Regions from separate parts of the Homo sapiens genome. Here region 1 is linked to region 2. Evidence: promoter capture Hi-C in human tissues and cell types (Jung and others, 2019). All regions are on one chromosome and are shown on one strand. Each heading gives the region's core, a stretch centred on a gene start or on the middle of the fragment in contact. The rest is flanking DNA. Distances are from core to core; before and after follow the strand shown. Region 1 holds the start of ZFP62 (ZFP62 zinc finger protein). Region 2 holds the start of OR2V1 (olfactory receptor family 2 subfamily V member 1).

Region 1 (6,206 bases), core at 3,191-5,690, 270 kb after region 2:
GTGATTCCTCTTCTTGTCAATTATTCCAAGGAAAATACGATGAAAGCGTTCTGCACGCTACTATCTAAAACAGCACTGATTTATTTTTTAAAAAAGACATACTTAGAAAAAACCTCTGTGAGTTATACAGAATAGTTAAGGAGACTGTAGTTTAATGGAATATCACAGAGAGTAAAAACATGAAAAATGCTAATGTATAATATTATTTGTAAAAATGCTATATAAAAATACAGATATAGTATGATTATGACACTATCTGAAAAACACTCACAAACTGGTGATAGAAAAAAGTTTACTAAGTTTACTAAGTAAGTTTACTAAGTTTACTAAAGTTTACTAAGTAAGAAAATTTACTAAATTATGGGCTGGGTGTGGTGGCACATGCTTGTAATCCCAGCACTTTGGGAGGCTGAGGCAGGGGGATCATTTGAGCTCAGTAGTTCAAGACCAGCCTGGGCAACATAGTAAGACCTTGTCTCTATTTTTTTTAAAAAAAGGAAAGTTTAGGCCGGGCGCGGTGGCTCACGCCTGTAATCCCAGCACTTTGGGAGGCCGAGGTAGGTGAGTCACCCAAGGTCAGGAGTTTGAGACCAGCCTGGCCAACATGATGAAACCCCATCTCTACTAAAAATACAAAAACTTAGCTGGGCATGGTGGTGTGCGCCTGTAATCCCAGCTACTCAGGAGGCTGAGGCAGGAGAATCCCTTGAACCTGGGAGGGGGAGGTTGCAGTGAACTGAGATCGTGCCACTGCATTCCAGTCTGGGCAACAAGACCAAAAACTAGTTTACTAAATTAAGAATAATTTTTCTGTTTTCCAGATTTAACATAATGAACTGATATTATGGTACAGTGGGAGGAGAGATTTTATTTTAAAATAAATTTGCCATTGGGCATGGTGGTTCACACCTGTAATCTCAGTACTTTTGGAAGCCAAGGTGGGAGGATCACTTGAGGCCCAGGAATTTGAGACCAGCCTGGTCAACACAGCAAGACCCTACCGCTGCAAAAAAAATTAAAAAATTAATCTGAGGCCGGGAGCAGTGGCTCACGCCTGTAATCCCAGCACTTTGGGAGGCCAAGGTGGGCGGATCACCTGAGGTCAGGAGTTTGAGACCAGCCTGGCCAACATGGTGAAATCTTGTCTCTACCAAAATACAAAAATTAGCCTGGTGTGGTGGCATGTGCCTATAATCCCAGCTACGTGGGAGGCTGAGACAGGAGAATCGCTTGAACCTGGGAAGCAGAGGTTGCAGTGAGTCGAGGTCGTGCCACTGTACTCCAGCCTGGAGGACACAGTGAGACTCCATCTACAAAAAAAAAAAAATATTTAATCTGGATCTAGTGGTTCACACCTATAGTCCTAGCTACTCAGGAGGCTGAAGCAGGAGGACTGCTTGAGCCCAGGAGACTGAGGTTGCAGTGAGCTATGTGATCACACCACTGCGCTCCATCCTGGGTGACAGAGCAAGATGCTGTCTCTAAAAAAAACAAAAATAAATCTGTGACCAAATTCAATGGCTAAACACAGAGTTGGAATTAAGCCCTATGGGCTTAGCTCAACATTAATTTGTACTTAAACCACTCCAAAGGGAGGTAGATGAGCCAGCAAAGCAAGAGCAAACCCAGACAACCTCACTGCTGCACCTATTGGCCTCCTAGAGCAGTGCTGTTCAATGGAAATGTACTGTGAGCCATGTATGTGACTTCTGATCTTCTAGATGCATTTAAAGTAAAAAGAAACAGGTAAAATTCATTGCAACCATGTATTTGATCTACCCCAATATAGTCAAAATATTATTTCAGCATGTAATCAACATTAAAAATTATTAATAAGATAGTTTACATTCTCTTTTCCTAAGTCTTAGAAATGTGGTGTGGATTTTACATTTACAGCACATCTCAATTCAGACTACCATAAGCTACATGTGAATAATGACTGCCCTACTGAACTCAGCTCTGATGTGTAGATATCTCTAAAAGTGTTAGAAAGGCAAGCATGTGTCTGTGTCTGTGTCTGTGTCTGTTGTCTGTGTGTGTTATGTAGACACAGGCCAAATGAAAGGTGCCTGCAATATAACAAGGCTCAAGGAGGAAAAGCCGTCATCTAAAATCAAAAGGATCCGACAGGCACGGTGGCTCACGCCTGAATTCTAACACTTTCAGAGGCCAAGACAGACGGATCACTTGAGCCCAGCAGTTCAAGGCCAGCCTGGGCAACATAGTGAGGCCCCATCTCTACAAAAAAGACAAAAATTAGTGGGGCTGTTGTGGCATGCACTTGTAGTCCCAGCTACTTGGGAGGCTGTGGTGGGAGGATCCCTTGAACCTGGGAGATCGAGGCTGCAGGGAGCCATAATCATGCCACCCTGACTCCAGCCTGGGCAACAAAGTGAGAGCTTGTCTCAAAACAAATAAATAATAAGATAAAATAAAAAGCATCTGACTCAAGATGATTTATGTGGGTTTCCCATAATCCCTTCCACACACACACCACCTTTCATTGAGCGAAGTGTTCCAACCCAGATATGAATATTTTTCTATCTTGCTGCCTAGAGGTAAAAACCCAGTCTTTGCCTACCATGAACCTTTAAGGGCAGCTTTAATTCTGGAGGCCTGTGAGGACCACCTGAAGCTCCTTCTAGAGCTGTGCTATCCAATAAGGTGGCCATTAGCCACATGTGGCTATTTACATTAAATGTAATTAAAAATTCAGATCCTCAGCAGCACTACCCACATTTCAAGTGCTCAACAGCTGCATGTGTCTCACTATCCTTTGGGGGCAGCTCTAACTCCCAATCCTCTGCTCGCTCTGGGGCTCTCACCTAAAGCTGCAGACCTGGGCCTGGGGCTCTGCTCCTCCTTAGGAGTCGCTGCTGCCTGCTAACTCGCCCAGACGTTCTTCGAGGTGGGTGGGGTTGTGGCGTGAAGCCCAAATGCCGTCAAGGGTCTTATTGCTACAATGAAACGCCCATTCCCTCTACTTGAGTGAACACAGTGTCTCAGCACCCACATGTATAAAAATGAAAAATAGGCGTCGAGCTGATGCCAAACACCGGCTCACCCCAGCAATATGTAAAATTCATTCAAATAATATAAATAATTTGAGCTGTAAAACAAAATCCATCTCATTACAAGTTGTGCTTCCAAAGCACTTCACTTTTTGTCTAAGAATTAACAGTAAACATTTTGAAATATTTATATAATTTTGCTAATAATCCAGAAAATAACACTAAGAAAAAATGTAATCTACTTTCGTTACGGACATATATGCTAGGATAAACAATAAACAATAAAACAATGCATAGAACTATTTTACACTAGGATAAAATTCAATGAGGCACATAGAATGAAAATATTTTTACAGTAGAATAAAAAGCCGGTGAGGGACATAAAAGTTCAAGGAAAAAAACCCTAAAAGATGTAAAACTTATGACTGTTAAAAGTGGATAATACCAAATCTTCAGGGATTTAGATTCCATTGGATACACTTGAAAGCAATTTTGTTCTTAATATTAACAGCATGCCAAAAATATACCCTTTGCAATTATTTAAACTTAATATGAAAAATATTTAGATGTTGCTGTTTTTAAAAAAGGCTGACTATAGCCAATAACTTAGTTGTATATTTAAAAATAAGAATATAATTTGATTGCTTGTAACACAAAGGATAAATGCTTGAAGTGATGGACACGCCATTAACCCTGATATGATTATTACGCATTGCATTCCTGTCTGTATCAAGATATCTCACGTACTCGACAAATAGGGACACCTACTATGTACCCACAAACATTAATTTAAAAAAAAAAAAAAGGTCTTCAAAGTCATTTTAGGCCCTGGGTTTGGAAGCCGACACCGGCGGTGGGGTGGGCAGGGGGCGAGGTCGCTGCCAAGCTGGCGCCCCGGGTGGGAGCGTGGCCCGGTCCCAGGGACGGCTCCAGGGGCGCGCTCCCACTCCGCATCCCCAGTGCCTAACCGGGGGCGCTTCTGGTGCTGACGACCAGGAAGGGCTGGTGCTCTCGGGCCAGCCCCCAACCAGCTGAGAAGGCAATGGGTCCCCAGCCCAGCGCTGTCCTGCGCCCCTCCCGGATTCCCCCATTTCCCGCCAGGCCCCCACTTCCGGGAACGTCCCCGCACCCACACCTGGCAATGAATCACGTGTTCAGGAACCAGGTAGGCAGGTATTTACTTTATTACCTGTGCCCCTCCCCCAGCCTACCCCAGAAGCTAATGGGCACGGAAACAGAAAGCCCCGCCCACGGCCTCCTGGCCGCGCCTGGAGCGCGCGCCCTGCAGCTGGTCCTCAATAAATAGCCGAGGAGGCGCTCCCCTCCCTCCCTCCCGCCGGCGCCGTCGGCCCGGACCATCGAGTCAGTCCTCCAGCGTCCCAGAGAGGGCGCGGAAGTGCCCCAGGGCCGGCGCGGGTTCTTCCGGCCGTGCGGTCCGCGCTTTTGTCCCGCTGGCGGCCGGGTTCCCGCGGCGCCGCCACAGCCAGTACGTGAGTCCGCGGCCGCCCGCGCTCCCGCCCCCGGCCCTTGCCTGCCACGCCCTCCCCTTTTTGGCCGGGTCTTGGCTGCTCCGCGGGTCTCGGGCGGGATGTGGGAGTAAGCGTGCCCCCTCCCCGCACATGTCTCAGTGGGTGCGTTTCTGGGGAGCGGAGGGGAGGGAAGACCTCGGGCAGGCAGAGGGGTGCAGGGCGCGCCCCTGGAACAGACTGGGCTCTGTGTGGGCCACAACTGCGACGTTTGAACGGACCAGCGTCATGTTAGGTCTGCTCAACGTTCCGAGAAGGGCCAGGGCCCCGCTCCGGTGTTCCTCAACTATTCATCCCTGTTTTGGATGGGAGGGGATCCCTAAAAATTAGCGCTTCAAAATACCCACCATTTCGTGCTCCCTCTGCAGTTAAGTTTGGTACTCTAGGACTTGAGAGTGATTGCGAGGGCAGAGAGACCTCTAGGGGTGATCTGATTCGACCTTCTTCCCCTCCGCTCCACCCCACCACCTTTTTTTCTTTTTTTTTTTTGGTCGGTGAGTGATGATGATAAGCTCCCGCTGCAGGTGTGAATAGAGACCCCGGAGGTGCGTCCTAGCCCTCATCTGGGGAAGCGCACCTGCATACAGACGGGTGCACCGGGGAGGAGGCGACCTGCCGCGTGTTCCTGCAAGCAGAAAAGGAGTTAACTAGGTAGGGAGAGGAAGGTCGAAGAGTTTCTTAGACCCAGGGGACAGCCTGCGGGAACCCAGGGGTGGGACGGAAAAGATCACTGGGGAATGCCAGGGCTGGGTGTGCTGCTCTAAGACATTTAAAGTAGTTGGCCAGCAGGAGCATTTCTTTGTGAAAGCTCAAGGCTTAAAAAAAATAATAATATGAAATATGTAATATATTCATATGGCTGGGATATTAAAAATATAAAAAGTTACCAGTGAAAGATTTCTTCCCATCCCGCTTAGGTATCTTCCTAGGCCCTACCCTCTTAGGTAACCACTTTTGTTCCTTTGTATCTTTTCCGAATTTCTGCAAATACTGGCAAATATAACTAGTTAGTTCCCCCTTTTTTCACACAGGTGATAGAAATCCTTCTAACTCCTTGATTCTTTCACTTTATCTTACTGGTCTCTACATGTCAGAACACAGAAGTTGTGTTTTGTTTCGTTTTGTTTTACAGAGCTGTGGTAAGTATTGGATGGGCCATTGTTTGGATGTTTTCGATGTTCTGTCCTTTTTTAGATCTATTCGGGGGCATTTGGGTTGTCTCCAATTTGTTGTTACTTCAAACAATGGTATACTCAATACAGTGTATTAGGGTAGGGATTTTTACAGAAGAAACTAAACAGCCGTTAGAAAATTATTTTTTTACATTAACTCAACCAGTTATTGGCAGATTGTTACATATGACAAGTCGTTATCAAAATCACTGATGTAGAGTGTTTAAAGAACAAATAAGACGTAAGTAGTTCTTCCCTTCTGAGACTTGTCCCTATATTTAGTGTTACACTAGCCTAATAGACTAATTGTGTCAATGACTCCAAGCCAGTCCCTGCCGGGTTTGATTCAGAAAATCAGCCTCCCTTTTAGTATCGCCTTTGCTCACCTCCTCCCCTACGACAACTAGAAATCTCTTCTCCACTACTTGGCATGAGAATGTTCTATTTCAGTTTTTTACTTTAAGGAAAAATCACCTTTCATTCTTATTTCTATATTT
Region 2 (6,381 bases), core at 3,609-6,108:
GCCTATAATCCCAGCTACTCAGGAAGCTGAGGCAGGAGAATCACTTGAGTCCAGGAGGCGGAGGTTGCAGTGAGCTGAGATTGTACCACTGCACTCACTCCAGCCTGGGTGACAGAGCGAGACTCTGTCTCAAAGAAAAAAAGTGGTATTTGCCATTTATTTCTTCTTTCTCTAATAACTTAGTTATTTTCTTTATTCTTTAAGTGGCGACCTGGAAATTACAAGCCACATACCTCACTTACTGGTGCCTCATATAAAGATGTATTTTTGCTACTTCCTGGCTTTCACGAGGACCTTAGAACGCGTTAGTTCCCCACCACTCCGCCTTCTTTGTCGTTGTTTTTATGCAGTTAGATTCTACACATATCTCAAACCCCACGCAGCCTCACTAACCTGATTTGATATTGTCAATATGCAGATGGATTCACTCACACATTTACCCTTTCTGTTGTTCTCCAGACCCCTCTTTGCATGTCCATCCTCTGGGATCATTTTCCTTCTGCTTCTGCTTGTAGAATTCCTTTTAGGGTTTTGTATTTTGCTCTTTGTTTTGGTTCCTTTTTTCATTTTTGTGGTTTTGTTTTGTTTTGGTGCAAATCTTCTGACAGAAAATACTCTAAAAGTTTTTGTTTGCATGAATTCATCTTTATTTGCCTTCATCTTAAAATAATATTTCTGTTGGAACTATAATTCTATGTGGGCAGTAATTTTATTCCAAGACGTTAAGGGTGCCATGTTAGCTTTCATCACTGTTGTGTGTGTGTGTGTGTGTGTGTGTGTGTTGAAAAGCCTGCTGTTAGTCTTCTTGTTGCAGTGTGTGTGTGTGTGTGTGTGTGTTGAAAAGCCTGCTGTTAGTCTTCTTGTTGCACTTTTTAATGTACTTTGTTTTTTCTTCTGGATACTGCTAACACTTTTCTGTTTGTTTTGCTTCTCAGCTGTAATGCTGTGGTGAGCCTAGCTTGGACTTCTTTGTATTCTTCTTGCTATTAGTTAACAGAGTTTCTTAATCTGTGACTTGATCTCTTTCATCACTTTAAAAAATTGCTCCACCCATATTTTTTTCTTTCTTTTCTTTCTTTTTTTTTTTAATTGAGACAGGGTCTCACTCTTTTGCCCAGGCTGGAGTGCAGTGACACAATCTTGGCTCACTGCAGCCTCAGCCTCCTGTGCTTAAGTGATCCTCCTGCCTCAGTCTCCCAAGCAGCTGGGTCCACAGGTGCCCACCACTGCACCTGGCTAATTTTTAAATTTTTTGTAGAGATGGGGTCTCTCTATTTTGCCCAGGCTGGTCTCCAACTCCTGGCCTCAAGTGATCCTCATGCCTTGGCCTCCCAAAGTGCTGAGATTACAGGCATCAGCCATGAGACCTGGCTTTTACCACCCCTCGGCTTCCATCTATATCTTTTAAAAATATTGTTTCCATCCTGTTCTTTCCTGCCCCTCTACTTTTGGGACTCCAGCAGCACTGAAGTGAGACCTTGCTATGCCCGTGTGTTTCTCACCCTCCCTTCCATGGTTTGTATTCTCTTCTCTCTGTGTTTCAGCCTTGGTTTTGTCTGTTGACCTCTTACTCAGTTCACTAACTATCTGTGTCTAAACTATTGCCAAATCTATCTATTGAGTTGTTTATTTAGTTTTTGATACTTTCAGTTCTAGAGTTTCGTTTTATTCTTTTCAAAGGTTACAGGTGTCTGGTGAAATTATCCGTCTTGGTTTTTTTCTCTCGAGCATCGTGATAACAGTTAATTTAAAGCTCATGAATGGCAACGCCAGTCTGGATCTCCTTTAAGTTTGTTTCTTTTTTGTCTTTTTGAATTTGGTCATTTTATCCTGTCCCTAGAATGCCTGGTAATTTTTTCTTGAATGGCAGACAAATGATGCGAATAATCTGAAGCTGTGGGTAATATCCTTTTCTTCTAGAGAAGATTTACCGTTCCTTATGTGGGGCAGCTAGATGAGCAGCTGGTTTCCTTAAGCCAGTCTGTGGCTGATGCGTGTGAACCTGTGGCTGATCCGCGTGAAGCTGGGTTCAGTCTTTGTGAGAATTCTCTATTTCTGATTAATAATTACTCTTAGTGTGTAGTGTTCCTGGGGTCCTAGCTGGAGGTCAGGGTGTTTTTGAGGTCTCTAAACCCAATTTCTTCCCTCCCAGATCTGTGAGATGACAAGAGGCTTCGCTCAGCTTCCCAGCCTCTGGGCCCTGTGCCAGGGATGAGTCAGCAAATGCCTGGAGAGGAAAAGCACCACCCAATGTCCAGCTCAGCCGAGAACACATCCCCGGGTCTCAGACCCTTGAGTCGTGGCTGTTTCCGCATCTTTATAATCACTTATAAAATATTTCATTTTTAGATTTTATCCAATTTCTCCAATTGTTCTTATCATGAAAGTTGTTCTTATACAAACTAGTCCACAGTGGCTGAAATTTTTTTACTTTTTGATATAATTTTGATTTTTAATTGTATGAAACATGTACTGAAGTCCAATTATAAAATAAAGCACACTTACAGATGTGTAGTTTTAGCGAGGAGTGGCGGCTCTTGCCTGTAATCCCAGCACTTTGGGAGGCTGAGGAGGGTGACTGCTTGAAGCCAGAAGTTTGAGACCAGCCTGGGCAACATAGCAAGACTCATCTCTACAAAAAATTAAAGAATCACCCGGGTGTGGTGGCATGCTCCTGGGGTCCTAGCTGCTCAGGGGCTGAGGCAGGAGGATCTCTGGAGCTCAGGAGAGTGCCCTTGCCTCAGGAGTTGGAGGCTGCAGTGAGCCATGTTGGCACTGCTGCACTCCAGCCTGGGCCACAGAGCAAGACCCTGTCTCTTAAAAGAAAAAAAAAACCTAGTTTCTGTCTCTGTCTCGTACACACATTTCTTCCCTCCTGCTATGTGGAACCGTATTTATTAGTTTGCAATTATCCTTTTATAGTTGATTTTGAAAATGTAAAAAACAACCTTGTCCATAGATTTCCTCCTTTCTCACGGCAGAAGCAGCAGGCTGTGTTCTGTTCTGCACCATGCTTTTTCCCTCCTTACCTCCTGAAGATCCCTCCAGTGTAGAAGAAGAAACACTTGATGTTCTTTTTACAGTCGTACGGCACTCTGTTATGTGGATACATTACAGTTTACTCAACCAGTGTGGAGTGACCTTCCAGGTTCTTGTTATAGAGCATTTTAGACACACCTAAAACCTGGAAGCATCGTATAATGAACTTCTCTGCACTCACCACCCGGTGCTGGCAATTGGCAGCTCAGGGTCAACACCGTTCCGTCTACTCCCCACCCACCTCTCCCTCTCCCCTTCACAACTGGATTATCTACAAATAAGTTTCAGAAATCACATAGTTTCCTCAGTAAATACATCAGTAAGTTTCTCTAAAATATCAAGAATAAAACATAATAATAGGATGAGCATTTAAGAAGAATTCTTAACAGAGAAACATCAATAATGACATTTCCTGGACATTTATGTGACAGCTGCTGCTTTCATTTTAGTACAAAAATTAGGGGAGGTTGAAAATTTGAATGTCCTAGACAATAATTTTTTTTTTTGAGACAGGGTCTGGCTCTGTTGCCCAGGCTGAAGTGCAGGGGTGTGATCTCAGCTCACTGCAGCCCTGACCTCATGGGCTTAAATGATCCTCCCACCTCAGCCTCCAGAGTAGCTGGGACCACAGACACGCACCACCGTGCCAGATTAAACATTTTTAAATTAAGATACTCATGTAAAAGACAGTGCTTCTATTTATGCAGGGCAGTTCTCCAAATAAATCAGTTCAGACATCCTAGTAACTTATTTGAGAAAAACGGACATTTCAAAGAGTATCCCCACCTCCCTTAAAATCTGAAAGGACACATAATATGATTGCTGTTAGCAGACTCTTCTCCCTTCTCTACTGTGGGACTCCAAGCCCCAAGTTAGTCTTGATTTAGGCTGTGTCAAGGGGACCAACACTGAATTGAATGTGAGATTCAAATTTTGATTTTCAATGGACTGGATTTTAGAATATATAAATGAGCCTTCGTCTTACCACCCAAAGTCACCAGAAAACTCTTGATCTGCATGAGATGTCATGAAGATGTGGAGAATGAATTGTGATGTCTTATTTAAAAGCAGTGGCTGTACAAAAATAAAAGTGTTTCCTTGTTTGCACATGATCAAAAGTTCCCCCTGAATAATACGATAAAAGGCAATACAAGAGCTGTCAGCAGGCCATGGACATACGCTGCCAGAGTGTAGACAGGAAGCCATGGCCGGCGGAGGTCATGGTGGATTGAGTTCCGGAGGAATCTGAATGGAGGTGGGCTTGAGCTCGGTCTTGGGGAATTAGATAAGGCTGAAGAGTAACAGAGGAAGAAGACAGAGGAAGTGCCGGTGGGGAGAAGTGGCTGGAGAAAAAGTGTGAGTGTGGAAAGCGTTGGGTGCATAGGAGGATAGAGGAGAAGGCCGGTGTGGGAGAGGAGTGGGAGACGCTGCAGGTCCAGTCCTCAAAAGCCAGCCTGCCCCACTCCAGCTGCGAGGTGGCCATTCCCTTCCTCCCTAGTCTACCTCTCTCTGCCCCGGTCTTCCTGTGTCTCCCTCATGGCCTCCTCGCCTGCATGTTCCTCAGACTCCTGCCATAGCTGGAAGCTGGATCAGGAAGAGGGCACACACCAAAAGTGTGGTAGCAAAGACACACAAGGAAGTCGAGATTCAGAAGGAACAAACGCCTCTGGTGTCTGAGCCATGTGGCAAGGGGATTTCAAGCACATTGGCCCCTGAGAAAATGGCCTGCTTCCATGGGACATAAATAGCCACAGAGTGACCATAAAATGCATCCTCCGATGTGAAATGCTCTTGAGAGTAAAAGGCAGTGGCAGCATCAGAACCGTGGACTTCAGCCCCATCCCCAGCAGCCCACGAAGACACTGACCCTGCAGAAACGCCTGTCAGGTTTATGAGGATCCCAACCAGGCCCCCAGGCTCCACCCGACTCTCGTGAAGGTGGGGCTGTTCTTTCCCTCCCACGAGGCTGTAGACCCCTTGAGCAAGGACTGTGTCCAGAGCCCCCCACCCAGTGCTTTGCATGTCACGGGTGATGTAGGCTGACTTAATGGGGGCAGGTGAAGGACAGGTGTGGGGTGCAGCGAGGGCCCAAGGGACAGCTGTGACATGGAGACCCCATGAGGGCCCTGGAGGTCGCTGGGAAGTGCTGATGTGTGTGTGGGGGGGCAATGTAGGGCACCAAGAATGTCCTCCGCATTCCTGTATTCCTCTGCCCTGCGTTCCTCCTCCCCCAGCTGGGTTTCCTCACGCTGTCCCCACTGGCCCTGCTCCTGTTCCTGTCCCCAGGTCCCTCTGTGGGTCTTTTTAATTGTAATCTTGGGAGCACCTCTTCCAGGGCTGGAGTCTGTGGGGTCCCCTGGGAGCTGAGGTCTGAAGTCAGCTTCCCCTCTTCACCCCGTGTCTGGGTTCAGTACCTGTGTGGGCAGTGGGAGGCGGTTCTGCCACCTGGCCAGAGCCAGGGTGTCCTGGAGGCAGGTGGGAATCCTGGGTGGGCTCAGGGCACTGCTCCTGGCTCCACCTCTCCTGCCAGCACCAGCTCCTTCCCTGAGCCTGTTTCTCCCTCTGAGAGGAGGCTGTGGTCTGTGTGAGCCTTGCTCTCTGAGCCTGAGGGGCCACTGGAGGCTGAGGGTGCCGTGGGCTCCACAACCCGATGAGTAGTCGGTGCGGGCTGAGGAAGGAGGTTGGGGCTGCGGCTCCTCCTGTCCCCCGACCCAGTGGGAGCAAACACAGGAGGATGAGTGCATGGCTCTGACGCTAGGAACTCCTCCACAGGTGACTCTGCTGAGTTTGTTCCCCTGCAGGGACCCACCCACAGGTGAGTGAGGGTCTTGTCCTGTCGTCCCCTCTCTCTTCCCTGCAGCTCCTGCTCCCATTGCTGGTTCACGTCCCCATTTATCTTGTTCATCAGCACTTGCTCTTCCTCCTGCTGTCTGCCTCCATCAGGGTGTAACTGTTTCGTGTGGGTGTTTGGAGGGGCATCCGTCTTCTGGTGTGATGTTTCTCCTCACTCTTTCTTCTCGTTCTCTTCCTTTGACCCACCTCTCTCTCTTTCCTTGGTGTCCTACTCCCCTTTTCCCGTCCCCCTCCCTCTGTCTGGGTTGGAGACTGGGCTCTAGGTCCCTGGGGTGGAGGATGGTCCACAGCAGGAAGACAAGGACAGATGTGTGGGGAGTGCGAAGGTGAAGGAGCAGGAAGGAGGGGGCTGATGTGGGACGGGGTCCTCCCGTGCCGGGGAGAATATTGCAGAGATGCAGTGGCTTCTTCTATGTTGTGGTTTCTAGGAAGAAAAGTGAAGCCATTAACTAAACACCCAACGGAAAGGTCTGAAATTAGAGAGCAGGA

What was found. The method cuts DNA at HindIII sites, captures the fragments that hold promoters and counts their contacts. A contact is called where the count stands out against the background at its distance.
Region 1: a contact is called between the fragment with the promoter of ZFP62 here and the fragment with the promoter of OR2V1 in region 2, in 1 of the 25 tissues and cell types used here (heart left ventricle).

Annotation. Positions count from the first base shown.
Region 1 is chr5:180,859,510-180,865,715 of GRCh38, reverse strand. ZFP62 (ZFP62 zinc finger protein) reads left to right here and starts at 4,440. Exons shown (of 2, transcript NM_001172638.2): 1 at 4,440-4,497. The coding sequence starts at 4,497. RefSeq lists enhancers at 3,397-4,303, 4,781-4,860 and a silencer at 4,231-4,680. The HindIII fragment of the contact is 15,115 bases long and covers 1-6,206 here.
Region 2 is chr5:181,129,646-181,136,026 of GRCh38, reverse strand. OR2V1 (olfactory receptor family 2 subfamily V member 1) reads left to right here and starts at 4,858. Exons shown (of 4, transcript NM_001258283.2): 1 at 4,858-4,977; 2 at 5,812-5,854. RefSeq lists an enhancer at 5,571-6,072. The HindIII fragment of the contact is 10,189 bases long and covers 3,303-6,381 here.